3 separate regions of the Homo sapiens genome follow, and all the other regions are linked to region 3. The links are contacts of gene promoters, found by promoter capture Hi-C in blood cells and fetal thymus (Javierre and others, 2016). All regions are on one chromosome and are shown on one strand. The core of a region is centred on a gene start or on the middle of the fragment in contact, and the rest is flanking DNA. Distances in the headings are between cores, read along the strand shown. Region 1 overlaps LOC102724520 (a long non-coding RNA gene). Region 2 has its middle 110 kb from the start of LINC02543. Region 3 holds the start of GMPR (guanosine monophosphate reductase).

The links. Contacts are between HindIII fragments. The CHiCAGO score rates a contact against its expected background, and 5 or more counts as called.
Region 1: a fragment that was not itself captured here is called in contact with the fragment with the promoter of GMPR in region 3 in 4 of 17 cell types (total B cells, erythroblasts, naive CD4 T cells and 1 more); the score reaches 5.7 in total B cells.
Region 2: a contact is called between a fragment that was not itself captured here and the fragment with the promoter of GMPR in region 3, in 2 of 17 cell types (naive B cells and neutrophils). The highest score is 5.6, in naive B cells.

The regions. Positions count from the first base shown.
Region 1 is chr6:15,728,698-15,731,397 of GRCh38, forward strand. It overlaps LOC102724520 (a long non-coding RNA gene), which reads right to left. Exons shown (of 4, transcript XR_427883.5): 4 at 1,343-1,835. Among named protein-coding and RNA genes, the nearest start is that of DTNBP1, 67 kb to the left of the region's middle. The HindIII fragment of the contact is 2,746 bases long and covers 1-2,700 here.
Region 2 is chr6:15,884,797-15,887,496 of GRCh38, forward strand. No RefSeq gene overlaps it. Among named protein-coding and RNA genes, the nearest start is that of LINC02543, 110 kb to the right of the region's middle. The HindIII fragment of the contact is 2,945 bases long and covers 1-2,700 here.
Region 3 is chr6:16,237,190-16,239,889 of GRCh38, forward strand. GMPR (guanosine monophosphate reductase) reads left to right here and starts at 1,398. Exons shown (of 9, transcript NM_006877.4): 1 at 1,398-1,591. The coding sequence starts at 1,505. RefSeq lists silencers at 1,181-1,280, 1,401-1,500. The HindIII fragment of the contact is 2,876 bases long and covers 1-2,189 here.

The DNA of each region.
Region 1 (2,700 bases), core at 120-2,619, 510 kb before region 3:
TCCTTCAGTGTTTTTCAGGTTTCCTTTGGGCCAGCAAATTCAATCAGAATAATACACAATCTTGGCTGGTATTAGGGCTTCTGTCCCTTTCAAAGGTGCTGTGATAGGGGGATGAAGCTCTCTTGTTGCTGCCATTGGTGATCCTTGGGAGTCTCCCTTCCCTCTCCTGCAGAGCTCAGTGAGAGGCAGCCTTAGGCAAAGTTAAGCTCAGTACACAGCCAATGTCTGGTGAAGCAGAGAGAGAGAGAGAGAGAGAGAGAGAGAGAGAGAGAAGATGGGGACATCTCTGATCTATCCTACCCATCTCTGGGACCAAACATTTGTCAGACTCCATAAAATCATCAACCTTAAACCTGGAAGGGATCACAGAAATGATCCAGTTATACCTCACTTTACTTCTTAAGAAATAGAGGCCTAACAAGGCTTCCAACAGCCATATAACTGGCTAATGGCAGAGCTCACAATCCATCGCTCTTCTCCCTGCACCACAATGTCATTCACAGCCATTCAGTGATGCATCATTACTTTAGAGTACACTTAATACTATCAGGCATGATTTGAGAGGCTGGAGTTGAATTGGCGCCTTCTCTGCCCACGAGGGGCTTAAAATCTAGTGAAAATGACAGGGCCCATTTATTGAACAACTTCCGATGCCTCAAATACATTACTTACTCTACCCAACATTTCAAGTTGTGTTATTTTATGTTCAGAGAGGTTAATGTGTACAAAGATGAATGTGCCCAAAGCATTCATTGGTAGGGCTGGGATTTGAGCCCCTGTCCATTTGACTCTAAATCCTAGGCTTGTTACGCTGTGTAACTCTGCCTCCCTAATATTAACAAATGTGTGGGAGAAGCATAACTATGACCCCTCTACCATGCTGGCTCAGATATCCGTGTGGTTTCTAGAAGATTAAGAAGCTATTATTCTGGTACCTTTCTTACAGGGAAAAGATGAGGTGAAGTAATGCAGAACATGGAAATGACTTTCTAAAAAGGATTTGAAACAGCTGAGAGCAACATAAACAGCAGGTTAAAAGATGAAACAAATATGTAAGTAATGGGGGAAATGAGGACAAAGCAACAACAAAGGATAAAGAGGAAGCCAGGGGTGAAGGAGGGACATAAAATGCCTACCATAGGGTCCAGGAAACCTGCTAGCAGGAGTCAAAGGACTGAGCTGCATTTTGATGAAATCGTTCTCGAAAATGCTAATCTATCCTCATACACAGTCTGTCCATTAATACTAGAAAACAGAAGAAACAGAGAGACAGAATACAAAACTGTTAAGAGTTTCAGCCTCTCTATTCAATGGATTTTAGAGGACTCAACTTGATTCAAACTCCACGTTACACAGACTTTATTAGATACTGTCTTAAACCACAAAATAAACTTTACACCAGTATAGTACAATATAACTTTGTTTGAAAGCAATATCTTTTGCAGGCAAGGCCCAGTTTTCAAAAGGTACATGTGTAAGGCATTATTTAACTATATGTTGAATACAGCAACATTTAGCTGGGGTTTGGAGGCAGAAGACTGAGGCTTAAATGCATTTGATCCCTGTGGTCTAGTCAAGTTATTCTCCGTCTCCAGGTCGGTTTCCTAATTCACAGAATGAGGATAAGATCTGCTTTATCAAATGTTTGTGAGAGTTAACTGAAGTAATAGAGGTGAAATGCCTGGCAATTTCACGTCATTGATGCTGCTGATGAGGTAAAAACTTTTGATTTTCCTCCTTTGCTATGAGCTTATTCTCAGTCCAGTTTTGTTTCGGTGTTGTCTCCTTACCAGAGAGGTTAGTGGTAATTATTGTTAGTGATAACAGACCAGCATCTGGAAATGATATAGAAGACAGCAGATCATGATAATGTCCCTTCCCTTTTCCAAATAAGCACTCTGTCACAGGGTGGGTCCCCCAGAGTTTAGTGTGCAGGGTGTTGATTAGGGACTGCCCTCAGGATCAACATCTGTGGAAGGTGTGGGCAGAAGAAGCTGAGCTGTCATGCAGGCATCACCACAGCCCCTGCCCGTGGGGCGCACTGGAGTGGAAATGGCCCTTCAGAAGCGTCCCAAGGTGGGCCTAGATGGCCCGGCCTTTTTATTCCATGTGGGCCACTCTGGGAAGGGGGGTGACCTCGGTCAAGGGAGTTCTCCACAGCTGAGAAATCCCTGACGAGGCATGTCCTTCATGAAGTGGGGGGTTGAGGAGGTGGTCTGGGCAGTGCCCTACTGCCTATGCTGCACTTCCTCATAGGTTCTCTTTCTTTGGTGGCCCTCCTGCCTTTCCAGACACAGAGAATGTCAACATTCCTCCTAATTCTTTTATTAGAAGTTCCTAGGGCAGATTGAGAGAGATCTGAATCAAAGGTACACAGTGGTTTCCAAGGGAGAAGAGCCTCTTTATGTTCTCGGTTGAACAGCAACTCTGACTTCTTCTGAATGAATTCGTCAGGGGCGAAGGGCAGAATGCAGACAGGCATCACACAGCCCCGTCAAAAGAACCTGAACAAAGGTTGAGGGAGGCTGATGGGGGACATGTATAAAAAACACAGCCTCTGAGAGATCTGAAGTTCATCAAGTTCTACAAGCATGACCATATCCCAACCATATCCTTAAGATAATGAGGGCAAATGAGAGTGTAGCAGGTGCATGGTAGCTTAGTTCAACATCCAGCTTTGAATATAGAAATTAAGTACCT
Region 2 (2,700 bases), core at 112-2,611, 350 kb before region 3:
TCTGTTGATATTTATATGACAGAATACTATACCCAATATTTGTGATCTCGCTTTAATCACTTAACACATCTCAATGCTCTTTTTTTTTTTTGAGATGGAGTTTTGCTCATGTCACCCAGGCTGGAGCGTGTGGTGGTGCGATCTCAGTTCACTGCAGCCTCCGCCTCCCAAGTAGCTGGGATTACAGGCATGCATCACCACGCCCAGCTAATTTTTATATTTTTAGCAGAGACAGGGTTTCACCATGTTGGCCAGGCTGGTCTGGAACTCCTGACCTCAAGTGATCTGCCCACCTCGGCCCCCCAAAGTGCTGGGATTACAGGCGTGAGCCACGGTGCCTGGCCCCTCAGTGCTCTTTTTATCTCTACCTAGAATGATCCAACTTATTTTAAAAATCTTCATACTACCAGTGCTGAAACAACATTTTCCACACATTTCTTAGGTGTGCAAGTTTATTTGCCAGATATATTCCTAACAGTAGTGGAACTGTTAGATCAAAGGCATATGAATTTTTCATTTTGATAGATATTGACAAATTGCCCTCTAAAGAGAGCATGTCGATTTATATTCCCTGCCTGTCTGCACTCTTACCAGTGCTGTGCATTTTAAAACTTTCTGATCTTTGCAAAACGTATGAGTAAACAAATGTGTCTTCAGTGATTTTCTTGCTTCCAGTCTTGCTCCTTTTGATTCACTATTCACTCTGCAGCTAGGGTGTGAGTCCAATCCTGTAACTCAGCTTTAGAAGATGCTTCCATGGCTCCTCACCGTCCTTGAAATAGAGTCCCATTTCCTTGACTGGCTCACAAGGCCTTTTGTGTTTGCGGTCCTGTGTAGGTCTCTACTGCCATCCCTCATCTCTTGCTGCCTCGCACTCCACATTTCAGCCATGCTAAACTACTCAGTCTGCTCTCCCTCACCTCCTTCCAGACCTCTTTCCCGTGCTCCACCTGCCTGAGAATACTTTCCACTGCCTGTCTTCCCTACTCTGGCTCACACTCATCATTCTATTTTTGGCTTAGATGTGACATCTACCAGGTTATAACAGGGATGCACTGGCTGCCTCCACAGCCCTCTTACTTCGCCTTTTAAATTATGCAACACTTGGTATATCAAAATAGTATGTAATATACACGTACGTTATGATGCAGAATCATAAAAATAAACCTATGCACCTACCAACTGCAACTGAAGAAACAGATGGCTGCCAACACTGTAATATGTGCTGCTTTCCTATCCATCATTACTCTTACCACACTGGGTGGTAGAGAATCTATACTTGTCTCTATTTCCCACTGGCATCTGAGTCCTGGGAAACAGGTCTGGATCTGACCCATGCATAGTGGTATTCCAAGGCCAAGCATAGGGTGTGATAAGTTGCAATCACTTAATAATATTTTTAAATTGAATATAATAATAGTCAGAAAGGGGAATTTTTTTTTAATAGCCAGGCTCTCAGAAAACAAGTCAGTTATTAAGAACTTATCATCAGTTCACACTGTACTTTGGGTCATTTTTCCAAGGTCAGAGATCAAGTTGTATAGCTTAAGCCTCCTTGTCTGCCTCCTTTGGTGAGGTAGTATGCTATGACTTTTCATTTCTTTTCTTTTTTTCTTTCTTTCTATTTTTTGGTGGGCGGTACCATTGCTTATTTTAATTTTTCAGTTGTGTATCAATAAGGCTGAACAGTTTCTGAAGTACCAGGAATCTATATTAATATTATAATTGCAAAGTGAGTAAACTTACTCTTCCATGGTAATAAGTAATTCAGTTCCTGTCCAAAGCGAGAAATGTCATTCGTGACACTGATTTCACAAATTAAATGCTATCAGCTACTTGAATTAAATAAGGAAACATATCACTAATGGAATTTAAATTAAGGTAACAATAGTAACTCTAATTTAATAAGGGTGGACCTCATGCTAGGCACACTGTAGATTTTTTGCTGATCTTTACCATTATCCTAGAAAGATACGAATGATTATTTCTGTGTTCAGATGAGGACATAGAGGTTCAAAGGGCGAGGGATTGAACCAATGCCACTAAGCCTGGACATCAGAGAGCCAGAACGGGCATCAAAGTCTGTGTCTCCACAAAGCCAAGCCCCTTCCCCCATATCACACAGCATCTCAAACACCATAACTAAAGAAATAGCACAATGCCTTTAAAAAGTATTTTCCTTATTTTTTTCTTTAATTTACCCTGGTCTATCACTTAAAAAAATCATTTTTATTGTTTTAAAATTATAACCTTTACTATTTTTTTACATGGTATTGGATATTTACTAAAAAGAGTATAATAAAGTAGTATGTTATTCATGATAAGTGCTAAAAGGAAAAACAAAGCAATGTAAGGGGATGGGAGGGGACAAGTCTGGATGTTTCGTTAGAAGAGGAGTTCAGAGGAACTTTCTTTGATAAGATGATATTTGAACAGAAACCTCAGTGAAAGGAGGGAGGGAATCTGTGGAGATATCGGGGGTAGAAGGTGGGGAAAGAGGGGTCCCGGGCAAGGTGCACCTGCCTCAGTGTGTACATTCACACCTAATTTGTAGCATATCCCAAGCTATAATATGGCTGTTTACATTTTAGAAGAGATTCCCCTACATTTTATGGAGCTTATGAATTGAAAAAGTTCTCTTAAGTCCTCAAAACAACCGATTTCTCTTGACTTCCAGACCCCCAAGAGCAAGCTGCACCT
Region 3 (2,700 bases), core at 148-2,647:
CCCCCCTCCTGCCCCCACCCCTTTTATGAGAAAACTGAGACTTAGAGAAATTGACTCCCCTAAGGTCACCTAGCTAGACAGTGGTGGAACCAGGTTTCAAACTCAGGCAGAGATGTTCCAGGACAAAAGCAGCTTCAGTGAATAGTTGTAGCAAGTTTTAAGGACTGAGAAATTTATATTGAATTTTTCTGCGGCCTTAGGCAAGTTATTTCATTTATAGAAGCCTCGTTTTTCCTTATCTGTGAAATGGCTCTTTCTTCATTGGGTTGTTCTGAGAGTGAATGAGATGATGCATGAAGCCCGGCAGCACATTTCAAATGTATAATAAAAGGTCGGTAAGGTCAATAAGTGAATCAATGAACTCACATCACTGGTAACCCCTCGAACTCACATCACTGGTAACCCTCAGAGGGGACTCAGGCTCCTCAAATCTCAGGATCTGCGTCGACTACAGACCTCACTGTTTTTCTTAAACAAAAATCCTGAAATCCAGGCTGGGCGCAGTGGCTCACGCCAGTAGTCCCAACACTGGGAAGCTGAGGCGGGAGGATTGCTTGAACCCAGTAGTTCAAGACCAGCCTGGGCAACACAGTGAGACCTTGTCTCTTAACAACAAGTCCAAAGGGAATCATGGCCTCCACAATCCCAGTACAGCTAAACAGTTAACTGCCCACGTTCTTTTCCTTAATTCTATACAACCTCCCTGGGGTTTCTGGTTCTTTGGCAAGTGAGAGACGTGCTCCTCAACACTGGGTGAGCACACCGGGCTTGAATTTTAAAAAAGGAGAATCCGCCGGGCACGGTGGCTCACGCCTGTAATCCCAGCACTTTGGGAGGCCGAGGCAGGCGGATCACTTGAGGTCAGGGGCTCGAGACCAGCTTGGGCAATATGGTGAAACCCCGCCTCTAGGAAATAATTTTTAAAATAAGCTGGGTGTGGCGGCGTGCGCCTGTACTCGAGGAGGCTGAGGCATGAGAATCGTTTGAGCCCAGGAAGTCGAGGCTGCGATGAGCGGCGATAGCGCCACTCACTCCAGCCTGAGCGACAGTGAGACTGTCTCAAAAAAAAAAAAAAAAAAGTAAAAGCTCTCAGGGAGCGACTTTTCCCTTGGATAAGGCAGCCACACGCTAAGTCCCCTCTCCATCGGGGACCCTGGGGACAAACAGAACGGTGCGCATTTCCCTCCCCCGTCCCCATTCGGTCACTGCCACGGGCTGTACACCTGAGGGGGAAGGACGGGGGCGGCGGCGCGAGGAGGAAGGGCTTCGCCGCCAATCTGTCCCTAACCAGTCTGCCTCTCAACCCCTGCCTGAGGCGGAGGCGGTGCCCGGGGCGGGCCAAGCGTGACCGCGGGTCGGCGGGGCGTGTTTAAGACCGCGGCGTGCGCACCCGGCCCACGCCAGCTCCCGGCCGCGGCACAGCAGCCCCGGCGCTCCCCGCGCCGCCCCGCGCAGGCGCCCCCGCCCCGCCGTCGCCGCCGCCGCAGCCAGGAGCCGCTGCACCATGCCCCGCATAGATGCGGACCTCAAGCTCGACTTCAAGGATGTCCTGCTCCGACCTAAGCGGAGCAGCCTCAAGAGCCGAGCCGAGGTGGGGGACGTTCGGAAGTCGCAGTGGGGTGGGATTTTTTTTTCCGGGTGGCGCGGGGCAAGTGGGTGGAAGGGGGTGGCACCGGGTTACCCTGCCTGCTTTGGTGTTTGAGACTGGGGCGCTGCGCCCCCGTTCCCGCGCCCCAGCACCTGCCAGGACGTGAGGTGTCTTTAAGGGCGGTGATACGGGGGCCCATGAAATTCTCTACACGTCGGTCCCGTTGGGTGGCCTAGGGGAAGTTCACAGTGAAACTCGACCACAGATGAGCGAGATCCAGTGGCCAGTTGGTTTAGAAGGAATAGGGGTACGAGGGCGCTTATAGCAAGAAAAGGAAACTGGAGCTAGGGGAGAGAGGACGAGAAAAACAACTGCAGATCCCGGTGATTTTTGGCTGCGTCTCCTAGTGCTGATAATTGCTGCTGCTTTCGCTTCGGGTCCAGCGGTGGAACTTCGTGAACGCGTCTGAAAAACCAGAACCCAGGGCACAAGTTCAGGGTTTCCTTTCTGAGTTTGGCGGCCTTGCTGGCAGTGGGGCTTGGGGACTCAGCGGTACTGGACAGCCCGCGGTCCCAGCCTAGCCCTGGAGAAGAGTTTCGAAAGCTTTGGGGTGAGAGAGGTGGGGGCGAATTGGAAGCCTCGGGCATTTCCCTGGTTCTGCCTGGATGTCCTCAAATCCTAAGGAACAGGTGGAGACCGGACTGGAAATAGCCTGAGGCTGGGGGAAGGGAGGCCAGTCCCTGAAGGATAAACTAGTTGCCTGAAAGGCAGAGTGCCCCGGGGTGGTGTGCGCTGGTGACTGGCTTTGCTGAGAGCTGGAGAGGAAGGTGAGGAAACCGGACACGGTTGAAGGCTGGGGCTGAAGGAGTAAACACGAGGAGGCTGGGCCAACCTGCACAGCTCCGTCCACTCAGCTCCACAAACAAGACCATAAATAAATCCCCTCAGCAAAGAAGTCCGCTGCCCACTCCGGTGCCAGGCCTAACTGCAGTGCCTGGGGCTGCCAGCCGAGGGCTTGCTTGGATTGGGGAAGCCTCCGCGTTAGCCAATGACTAAACCAAGTGGCCTTCTGTAAGCAGCAGCATTGGCTGGTTTGGAGCCCGGCAGGACTG